3 separate regions of the Homo sapiens genome follow, and regions 1 and 2 are each linked to region 3. Evidence: promoter capture Hi-C in human tissues and cell types (Jung and others, 2019). All regions are on one chromosome and are shown on one strand. The core of a region is centred on a gene start or on the middle of the fragment in contact, and the rest is flanking DNA. Distances in the headings are between cores, read along the strand shown. Region 1 has its middle 200 kb from the start of PLD5. Region 2 has its middle 170 kb from the start of PLD5. Region 3 holds the start of PLD5 (phospholipase D family member 5).

Evidence for each region. Contacts are between HindIII fragments. The study calls those that stand out against the background at their distance.
Region 1: a fragment that was not itself captured here is called in contact with the fragment with the promoter of PLD5 in region 3 in 6 of the 25 tissues and cell types used here (hippocampus, mesendoderm cells, neural progenitor cells and 3 more).
Region 2: a fragment that was not itself captured here is called in contact with the fragment with the promoter of PLD5 in region 3 in 6 of the 25 tissues and cell types used here (H1 embryonic stem cells, heart right ventricle, hippocampus and 3 more).

Annotation. Positions count from the first base shown.
Region 1 is chr1:242,724,144-242,727,506 of GRCh38, reverse strand. No RefSeq gene overlaps it. Among named protein-coding and RNA genes, the nearest start is that of PLD5, 200 kb to the right of the region's middle. The HindIII fragment of the contact is 5,147 bases long and covers 1-3,363 here.
Region 2 is chr1:242,691,311-242,694,737 of GRCh38, reverse strand. No RefSeq gene overlaps it. Among named protein-coding and RNA genes, the nearest start is that of PLD5, 170 kb to the right of the region's middle. The HindIII fragment of the contact is 3,960 bases long and covers 55-3,427 here.
Region 3 is chr1:242,523,178-242,526,684 of GRCh38, reverse strand. PLD5 (phospholipase D family member 5) reads left to right here and starts at 1,988. Exons shown (of 10, transcript NM_001372062.1): 1 at 1,988-2,597. The coding sequence starts at 2,409. The HindIII fragment of the contact is 9,545 bases long and covers 1-3,507 here.

The sequences.
Region 1 (3,363 bases), core at 124-2,623, 200 kb before region 3:
TTCAATAACCTACCATCCCTAGCTTGACACTGTAGCTGAAGCTGAGTGTTATCGTGTGTTAGCAAGACGTTAAGCTCCTGTACACTAATTCCTGAAAACGCCATTGTATTTTTGGAACCGCACTGTGTTTTTGCTTGATTTAACTTGATGTTCTTTCTCAGTGAGTAATTTTTACGGTTCCTGTTAAAAAAAAATACCAAGTTGTCTCATTTGCTGTGGCCATTTGATTGTAGTTCCTGATGTAATCTCTAGCACAAAGGTCCCATTGAAGAGTTTATTTTGGTTTCTATATGTGGGTCAATCACATAATGCAGTTTACTGTGTGAATTTTGAAGAATTCCAATCCTTCTAATAGTGCTTGGAAATATGAGTACAAATATTGGGCTTTAATGCATTGAAAGGTGTTGTAGGAGGCAAACAACATAGAAATTAGGGTTTTGACACATTTTTCAAGGAAGGGGCTTGAAGGAGGAGGTGTAGTGGCAGGCATCTCTGGAGAACACCACTGACTAAAATAAAAAAAAAAATTTTCTCCAAGTTTCCCATCTGTTACATACTGGATTTTTCCTGTAAATATCAAGTTTAATGAAACATACATCCTGAATACATTGAAGGGGAAATAACAATCACCAGCTCCTGCCTGGTTAAATGTTGACTCTAATAAATGAGTTGCCTGCACAGCTGTTCAATTTTATAATTTCTCATGGTGGCTAGTTCCTCATTTCCATCTTTGAAATGCTTTTTAAAAATCCTGGAAAGAACATTTAGTTTTTAAATTGAGGAAGATTAGTGATAATCTCATTAGCAATCTGGATGGTAATTTTCATTTAGTGGGTGCCTTCTCTATGAATCTTGGGAAATTCTGAGAATTCATTGTTGCTAAACTTTTTGCTAAAAATATCCTTCCTAAATGGAAAAGTCTGTGTCATGCATGCTAGTGTGAATGTGGGCTCGTGAAGGAACTGGCAGCCTAGATAGATACCCTGAGAGTGATGAGGTGGTGTGTATCAGTCAGTGTTTACCACAGTAATGCTGCATAACAAACCACCCCCAAAGTCTGGACCATACAATGAAAGCATTTATTTCTGGCTTGTGTATATATGAGTCAGCTTGTCTGGGCTCAGCTAGATTTGGCTGCAGGCCTTGAGTTCAATTTAGATCTGTTTCAAGCATCTTATTTTTCTGAGTCAAGTAGGCAACTCTGCAAGGCATGTTCTTCTCACGTTAATGTCAGGGTGCAAGAGGACAAGCCTAATCATGCCAGTGCATTATATCATACCCCACTGGCCAAAGCAGACATGTGGCTAAACCCAAAGATTAGCCAAATTCTGCCTATAGTGGGAGGAACTGCAAAAGCCACAGGACAAAATGTATGGATAGTAGAAAGGGCAAAGAATTGGAGTGAAAAATTCCATCGACCACATGCCGCTTCCCTTGGAATGCATCCAATGATAATCAAATAAATTTTAAAATTGCTTATCATGAAGTTACAGCACGTGCACACCCTCTTGTCCTTCTTGCAGTGATAAAATCTACTAGCTGTGGTGTAGTAGTAATTTTTAACTATTCCATCCTTTTTACTTTCTAAAGCACCAGAAGCTTGTTTTAAAACAATTTTATGTAGACCACGATTTATGAAATGAATAATGGTGGAGCTGTACCGGTGGGAAGGCCAAGAGAGGGAGGAGTCGGTAATAGGGTGGTCAGGCAAAATATAGGATGCCCAGCTGAATTTGGATTTCAGACAATGAATAATTTTCTAGTACGGGTGTGTCCCATGATGTCCTTTGTTTTTTCTTTTCCCTATTCCTCCTCCTCCTCCTTCTGCTAAATCTGGCAGCCATAAATGAGAACAACACATAACGTGTCCATTCCCCCTCCTCCGTTTGTTTGTTTGTTTGAGACAGAGTCTCACTCTGTTGTCCAGGCTGCAGTGCAGTGGCATGATCTCGACTCACTGCAATCTCTGCCTCCTGTGTTCAAGTGATTCTCCTGCCTCAGCCTCCCAAGAAGCTGGGATTACATGTGTGTGTCACCATGCCTGGCTTATTTTTGTGTTTTTGGTAGAGATGGGGTTTCACCATGTTGGCCAGGCTGGTCTCAAACTTTTGACCTCAGGTGATCCACCCGCCTTGGCATCCCAAAGTGCTAGAGTTACAGGCGTGAGCCACTGCACCCAGCCACACCTCCTCCTTTACTACCTCCTCTAGTCACATGCGCCTGATGCCCCTGACCTGCCCAGATACAGCCACGCTTCTCTCCTTCTCTGAGCTGTGGAGACTGCAGGTTTCTAGACCTTAACTTGTCTTCCTCTGGCTCTCCCATGGAAAACACAGTTCAGAAATTCCTTTCTCCCACAGTGCCTTCTGGTCCTATCCTGTGATTCCTTCAGAAAAACTGACGCTGGACTGAAGACTGACTCTGGAAGAGCAAACCAGAGACTGTTGGAGACTCTGCCAGGGCTAGATCATGGAGTAAGCTCTGCAAAAGAAGCCACATAAAATCGTTTGCAAAAAGAGTTCTTACACTTAAAAGAAGAATTACAGGAAGGAATGATTGAAAATTCCATGCCACGATGGTTTCTGATCAGTGTAGTGATTGATTTCTTATGGAGCACCTGAAAGATTCATTTTTGCTCAAGGTAGAGGCATAATGGGCAGAGGCTTCTTCTGCCCCAGCACCCCAATTCCCCCTCCACTGGACTCCGCCCTGCAGCAGTTCTGCCGTCATGGAGCTCATATACTGAGGTTCTTGATGACCTTGTTTGATCATCAAGTTCTTTGTGGACCAGGCAAGCACTTGAGGTAGCTCTTCTTGCCCTTGAGAAGCTTGGTTTCTCTGACCGTCTGTCCACACTGTCTCTGCAGAACAATGAGCGCCTTACATTTCGACAGGGAAAGTCAGCACTGTTAAAACTTATGTGATTGATTTTATTCCTTCAACGCAGGGATTTAAATTCTGCGAAGTCCGGGGAAAACCTCAGGCCATACTGAAATGGAAGTCGCTTTAGATTTATGTCTTTGCAAATCATAAACAGTGGGCACATAGAAGCCTATAGATTGTTGTATTAAAACATGACGTCTTCAGCAGCATTCAAGGCTTCCTGAAGACTTTAATGAGTGGGGAATATTTGATCTGCTCTCATGCCGACATCAGCAATGAGCTCAAAAGTTCTGAGAAGATGCAGTTAAGTGCTTGAGCTTTCGTGGATTTAATTTTCCATATTGAAAGAAGTCCAGAATGTAGAAGTCTCAGGAAGACATGGGTGAAGGCGTTGCTGCAGTTAGTTCTGGTGCTGGGGGACAGAGAAGGAAGAAGGGAAGCTTTGACTGCCCTCACTTGTTTGGCAGGAGCAGGCTGAAG
Region 2 (3,427 bases), core at 785-3,284, 170 kb before region 3:
AAAGGTTTCTGGTCCTTTTAGCCTAGAGCCTTTTTGAAGCTCGTGCTTCCCATAGAATTTTGTCTTTATCTCTTCAAACTGCTTGTCATACTATATTGAAATTATTTATTGTCTTTCCTGACATGCCTATTGAGGGTAAATATTGACTCTTATTGTGTATCATGTCTTCAGCATTGTATGTAATAAGTATTCAGGCTGGGCACGGTGGCTCACACCTGTAATTCCAGCACTTTGGGAGGCCGAGGTGGGTGGATCACCTGGGGTCAGGAGCTCGAGACTAGCCTGGCCAACATGGCAAAACCCCTTCTCTACTAAAAATACAAAAATTAGCCGGGCATGGTGGTGGGCATCTGTAATCCCAGCTACTTGGGAGGCTGAGGCAGGAGAATCGCTTGAACCTGGGAGGCAGAGGTTGCAGTGAGCCGAGATCTCACCACTGTACTCCAGCCTGGGTGACAAGAGTGAAACTCCATCTCAAAATAATAATAAGTTTTCAAAAATATATGTGGATGAAATGAATGAATGGGATATATATATATGTGTGTGTATATACATATACATGCATGCATAGACATAGACACACACGTATCAAGAACACGCAATACTGAGAGAGGAACGCAATGGTGGCTAGAGAAACAAGGCATGATTGGGGAGTGCCGACGAAGGTGTTAATAGTGATGTCTGGGTGGTCTAGGAAGGTTGGGGAAAGGAAGCGGGGCTCTTGCTGGTCCTTGAGAGATGAGTGGCAGGATTTTGATAATGATTAGGCAAAAGGAGAAAAGCACCAGGCTAGGGACAGAAATGGGATAAAAGTCAACCCCAAAGCTTAGTCCTTGGTTGTAGCGATTGGGTCATATCTTAGGAATATTAACCTTTACTCTAATCTTCCTTCTGATCTTCCCTGTTTTGTCTCATCTATGCAAAACAAACATCACAGACTCTCTCTTGAACTTTTCCAGAAGGCTTTCTTTCTCAGGCCATCACAACCATACTCTTCTGCTGCAAGCGTGCTATCCTATCTGTGGATTTTGCCCAAAATAGGATTTTATTCATCTCATCACCTCAGTGGCATCATCTCATTTTGAAGCAATTTAAAATGTTTTCTCCATCTACACTAGTTGGATTTTCTTTGCTCTGTTACCCACTTCCAGTAATTGCATTCCTCAAAGAAAAGACAACCTGACAGCATAGAAAAATGCTAGGAATTAAAACTTCATCATCACTGGAGTCCTTCTATCTCTTCATGTTACTGAGTAGAGAGAGAAGATATCTCAAAATAAATGCCTGATACTAAATAACTGCACTGGTAGCTTCACTGCCACCCTGGAAGATATGAAAGAGATAGAATGCCTCTATGAGTTTTCTATGCCACACCTGGTGGCTGCCTGCCTCACCAGTGGGAAGTGGAAAATGAAATCTTGGCAAGGGACCTGGTTTTCAGTGAAAAGCGTTATTGTCTACAGCCCTGAGATAGAGCAGGAGAAGTTGGTGGAGAGAGGGTTTGGAGTGAATGGTCATATGGAAGAAGTGAATGAGATCCCGTTTCCTGCATTATGAGAAACTCTTAACCTCTTAGGGAGATGAGTCAGTGTAATAAATCAGGATGGAATCCTAAGCTGTTAGTTGCCAGGGCTATATTTCAGAATGTATTAATTAGTGCACTCTTATTTATTCTCCCTTCCTATAGGCTAAGCTTAATATAGTTGTAACTCCATGAATGAGACTGTATTCTTGCTATTTTTTAAGCATCAGCAAGTTGAGGAGGAAATGCAGAGGAAGACCTGAATATGTTCTGTTTCTGCTCCTCCATCACAGCCAGGGTTCCAGAAGGAGCTGAAAATCAAGAAAGTTTGGCAATAAGCTAAAATCAAATCTGACTTCGGATCACGAGGTCAGGAGATCGAGACCATCCTGGCTAACACGGTGAAACCTCATCTCTACTAAAAATACAAAAAATTAGCCAGGCGTGGTGGCGGGCACCTGTAGTCCCAGCTACTCGGGAGGCTGAGGCAGGAGGGAGAATGGCGTGAACCCGGGAGGTGGAGCTTGCGGTGAGCTGAGATGGTGCCACTGCACTCTAGCCTGGGCGACAGAGTGAAACTCCATCTCACACACACACACAAAAAAAAAAAAAAAAAAAAAAAGAGAAAAAGAAAAAGAAAAGAAACTAAGGTCTAATACAAATCACATGAGGCTGTTACTTAGATTGCATTTACTCGGCAGCCCAACTATTCAAAATCTGAAATAAGATTTATTGACACAAACCCAGTTTTTGTATGAGAGCCAACATATCTTGGCAATTAGGTTCAAAGGAAGCAAATACACTTTGAAATTTTTTTGCAAAAGTGATATCTCATTTATTAATGCATTGATTTAAGCCAAAATGTAAATAATTCTAAGTGTATGTGGCTTGAGGTAAAGAAAATTTTTCTATTTTAAAATTTCCATTAATTCAGTAATGTGTTCCTTTTATTGTTCTTGTTTGGTGCTTACCCTTTGTCCATGAGTCTGTTCTTAGGGTGTGTGTGTGTGTGTGTTTGTGTGTGTGTGTGTGTCTAAACAGAGCAGAAATGACTTGCCGGTGGGGAAATGAGCAGGCCTATAGCATTCAGCAGGCATGTGAAGAAATGAACACCTGGGTACTCACTTTGAATCCACTGATCTTGACCTTGAACTTGGCCTGCCCCTCCAGGACCCTATTCACTTTCACGTTACCCCTTGCAGGTAGCTACCAGGTTCGTGCCAAATAATGTCACTCTTTGCCCAGCTAAGGTGTTTATGGCAGGTGGATTGCGCCTGAAGATGTCCTATTGCTGTGGTCCAGTGAGTATAAATTAATGAGTGATGCTGCTCACAGGTGCACCTGGAGGCCCTCCTGCCTGATGAACCCCTAAGCTTGGCATTTTTTTCTGAGGCAGAGTGTGTCCAGATGGCAGCTTCTGAAGAACCAAGCCCAGCACCTGAATCAGCTCTGTTTTTTTTGCTCAAAATGCTTGGTGCCAGGGCCTCTCTGTCAGATGCTAAGACAAGGGAGCTCAGCAACTGCTGGCTGTCAGCCCTACCTGCAGGTCCAGCCTGCTGGGCTTCGTGCTGGGACACAAAAGAGAACAAAAAGAGAACTGGGCTTTTGGTAACTCCAGGGAAAATATTCTGCTGGCCTCAGGCTTGGGAGAAGATTTACAGGCTATTTTAAGGGGTTCAACGGAGCCCATAGAGTCTGCATTGAATAACTGGACCCACAGCTGTTATTTCTGAATAAGCTTTCAGTTTCATAATTACATCCCCCTCACACTGGGCTCTGAGAATACCCTCAGTTGGGTCTGAACAGATTGAAGTGCTTTAGCTACCACAGAAGTGGGAAGCTTAACCCCACTGGTGAATACAGACGAATGGATCCCATCATTCACTCAGCAAGGACACTGAGCAC
Region 3 (3,507 bases), core at 739-3,238:
TGGGACGCCGAGGCTGGCGGATCACTTGAGAGACCAGCCTGGCCAACGTGGTGAAACCCCGTCTCCACTAAAAGTACAAAAATTAGCTGGGCGTGGTGACGTGCACCTGTAGTCCCAGTTACTCGGGAGGTTGAAGCAGGAGAATCGCTTGAACCCGGGAGGCGGAGGTTGCAGCGAGCCGAGATGGCGCCACTGCACTCCAGCCTGGTGACAGAGCGAGACTCCATCTCAAAAACAAAACAAAACAAACAAACAAAATTATCAGAGATGCTATACAATGGAATGTATAGTTTTCACAGCCTCACCTCCGACAGGGTCTTGCCCTGTCGCCCAGGGTGCAGTGCGATATCGGCTCACTGTTGCCTCCTCTTCCCAGGCTTCAGCGATCCTCCCGCCTCAGCCTCCCAGGTAGCTGAAACCACAGATGAGCACCACCACGCCTGGCTAATTTATTTTATTTTTAGTGTAGGCCCAGGCTGGTCTGGAACTCCTGGGATCAAGTGATCCTCCTGCCTCCTCCTCCCAAGGGGCTGAGATTACAAACCTGAGCCACTCCGCCTGGCCTTCACAGCTTTTCAATCTGGTTCATATCCTTGTTTTGAAGTGTAATTTCTGCTTCTGCTTCACTTTCCTCACTGGAAAGGAGGGTTAATAACATTTATCTTGCAGGATAACATGAGACTTAGAGATAGCCCACAGGTCGGGGCATCTATTGCACAATATAGTTCAGCTCCTAAGAAAACCAACCTAGCACAACCAAAATGTGTGTATTTGTGTTTAGTTGTTTCATCCCCATATTGAATGTGCACAGGATTTTATTTCAACTACTATTTTTACTATACCATTTTTTTAAATGGAGACTTTGAAAAGATATGAAACACAATCCCTGTCCTCCTAAAAGTTTGTGAAATCCCAGCCAGAATGTCTTTGAAACCGTCATTCAAGTAGGGCAGTTCTGCCGAGGGCTAGAGAGCCTTCAGTTTACCCTTGGCAACACCCTCTAAAATCCCCTGTATACCTCTCCAGCTTCCATACACTTCCCAAGCTTTTAACCAGACACGAGACACCCTGAACACCAGCTGTTTAGCATTTAGATAAAACCAAAAAATGTTTCGAGAGGTTGACTCCAAAGATAGCAAAAGATGAAGAGATTGAAGATTTAATCGCGAACAAGCCACCCTATTCCTAATAATCATCACGCTTGGCTGGGCCCCGAAGGAAAAGCCTGGACCCTAGGGGCCTAGAAACAGAGAAAAGAAACAAATGCACAGCAGTTGGGCCACGTCCACCTAAGGAACAGTCACCGCACAAGCGGAGCGTTGCAGAGGAGCCCTGGATCACCCTCCCAGGATCGGAATGGGTGCGGCCCGGGGAGCCCGGTTCTAGGTGGACACCGAGGGCTGGGGAGCAACCGGTCCCGCGTGCCTGCCCGAGGGGCTACTGCCCCCGGGCGTATTTGCATCGCCACACCATCGGATGAAAGTAGCGTGTACGGCTCCAGAAAACACATGTCTCTCGGCTATTTTCAGGGGGGAATGCTGGGCACCCTCTGCTCTAAGTCCCTTGGGGTGGGAAGTTAGTGAACTTTCAGAATGGGGGAAGGCGCAGCCCAAGCGAGCCGGGGGCAGGGTGAGGGGGCGCCGCTGGATAGAGATGGGGGAAGGGCGGAGGTGGTTTCCTGAGTGTCTCCCTCCGGAGCCATCCCCGCGCTCAGCCAGCAGGACCGAGGAGGCGCGGAGACGGCGCTCACTTCTCCCCTCGCCTGCCGGCTTTCCAGTAAAGATGCGCCAGGGAGAGGTGTAGCCTGCTCGGGAAAGGCGGGTGCGGAGCGGGAGCGCGGCCGCCCGGGCCTGGGCGCGGCGGGAGGGGCGGCGGCGGCTCCTCACTGCACCAACCTGCAGGCGCGGGCTGGCTGGGCCAGCCGCGGCCCCTCCCACCGCACCCCACCCCCGCCGCCGCCGCCGCCCCGGGAGCCGGCCCGGGTCCCAGTAGGTGCCGCAAGGAGCCGGCGAGCGGAGCGCCCGCTCGGGACCGCAGCCGCCGGGCGACGTCGCCGCCGCACCGGGCACTTCTGTCTCCCCGGAGCAGGTTCCTTTCCCTCCCTGTCCCCTCTCGTCCCCCTTCTCCCCGTCCGTCCCCCTCCGCCCCCGCCCCCGCCCCCGCCCGCACCTCGCCCTCCCTCCTTCCGCCCCGCGCCTCCCGCGATCGCCCCCTCCCGCCCGGCCGCGCTCCCAGCTGGCGCTCAGCACCCCGCGCTCCCCGCGCCCGCTCGCTCCTCCAGCTCCTCCAGCTCAGTCTCCAGCTCCACCTCCGGCTCCCGCTGGGCCTCCCGCTCGCCCTCCGCGCCCGGCTCCCCGCGCGCCCGTCCCGAGTCCGCTGCTCGCCGGCGGCCGCCCGGTCATGTCAGGATGGAGATCCGGCAGCACGAGTGGCTCTCGGCCTCCCCCCATGAGGGCTTCGAGCAGATGAGGCTCAAAAGCCGCCCCAAGGAGCCCTCCCCAAGCCTGACCCGAGTGGGCGCGAACTTCTACAGCAGCGTCAAGCAGCAGGACTACAGCGCCAGCGTCTGGCTTCGGAGGAAAGACAAGCTGGAGCACGTAAGGGCGACTCGCTCCCGGGGGCCTCGGCCAGGCACCTGCCGCATGCACCCTCCCCGTGGTGGTGGCATGAGCGCGCGCGGGGCGCGGGGGGCAGGCGAGGGGATCCTGGCAGGCGCCGACGTCCTAGGTCGGATTCGGGGGCTTCTCTGCCTGCAGTTTCTTGCCTTAATGACCGGGCTGCGGGGAGGGGAGGGCAGGTTCCCTTTCAGGCTCTTGGTCCCTGCCGACCCGACCTGCCCACCTGCGTCTCCCGGTAGGGTTCATTTGCACGGGGTTCTGGAGGTGCCTGTGCAGAGTGAGCACGAAGGGGAAGTGCCACCAGCGTGGCTCCGAGCAACCTGGCGTTGCATGGTAGTGGGCTTTAGAGCGGCGTTTGCCCGCGTCTTTGGGGGCTGTTTTACTCAGTCCAAAAACTAGCAAATTAACGAATGAGTAAAGTTGGCGCCGCTAGCGACCAGCGTGGACCCGCGCACAAGCCATTAGAGTTTTTTGCAGAGTGTCCGCTGGGATGAGCAGTTGGTGATCCTCTCTACTTGAGCCCAACTAGGGAGAGATTTGCGCGTTGCAAGGAGAAAGGCTAAAAGCGAGCGGATCGTCGGGCTCCCCAGAAATCCTCCCCTCTGGAGGGTGGGAGCCGGTGAGAGGGGACCTCTACTCCCAAGGAGTGCCGACTTCACGCGAAGTGAATTGGCTCTGGAGTTGAGCTCCTAAGGCTTGCTATTTTGAAAGAAAAAAAAAAAACCTTCTAAAAAGGCGTTTAGTGGATCCACAGTTTCAAATTTGATCCATCAGCATCTTCTTAAACCAAATGTTAAAATTAAACTAAGAGAATTATCTCAAGAGTGCAGCACAACTAGCTAAGGAGAAGATGCTATTTCTCCCTGCAGAGCTGCAGAATCCAAATTGA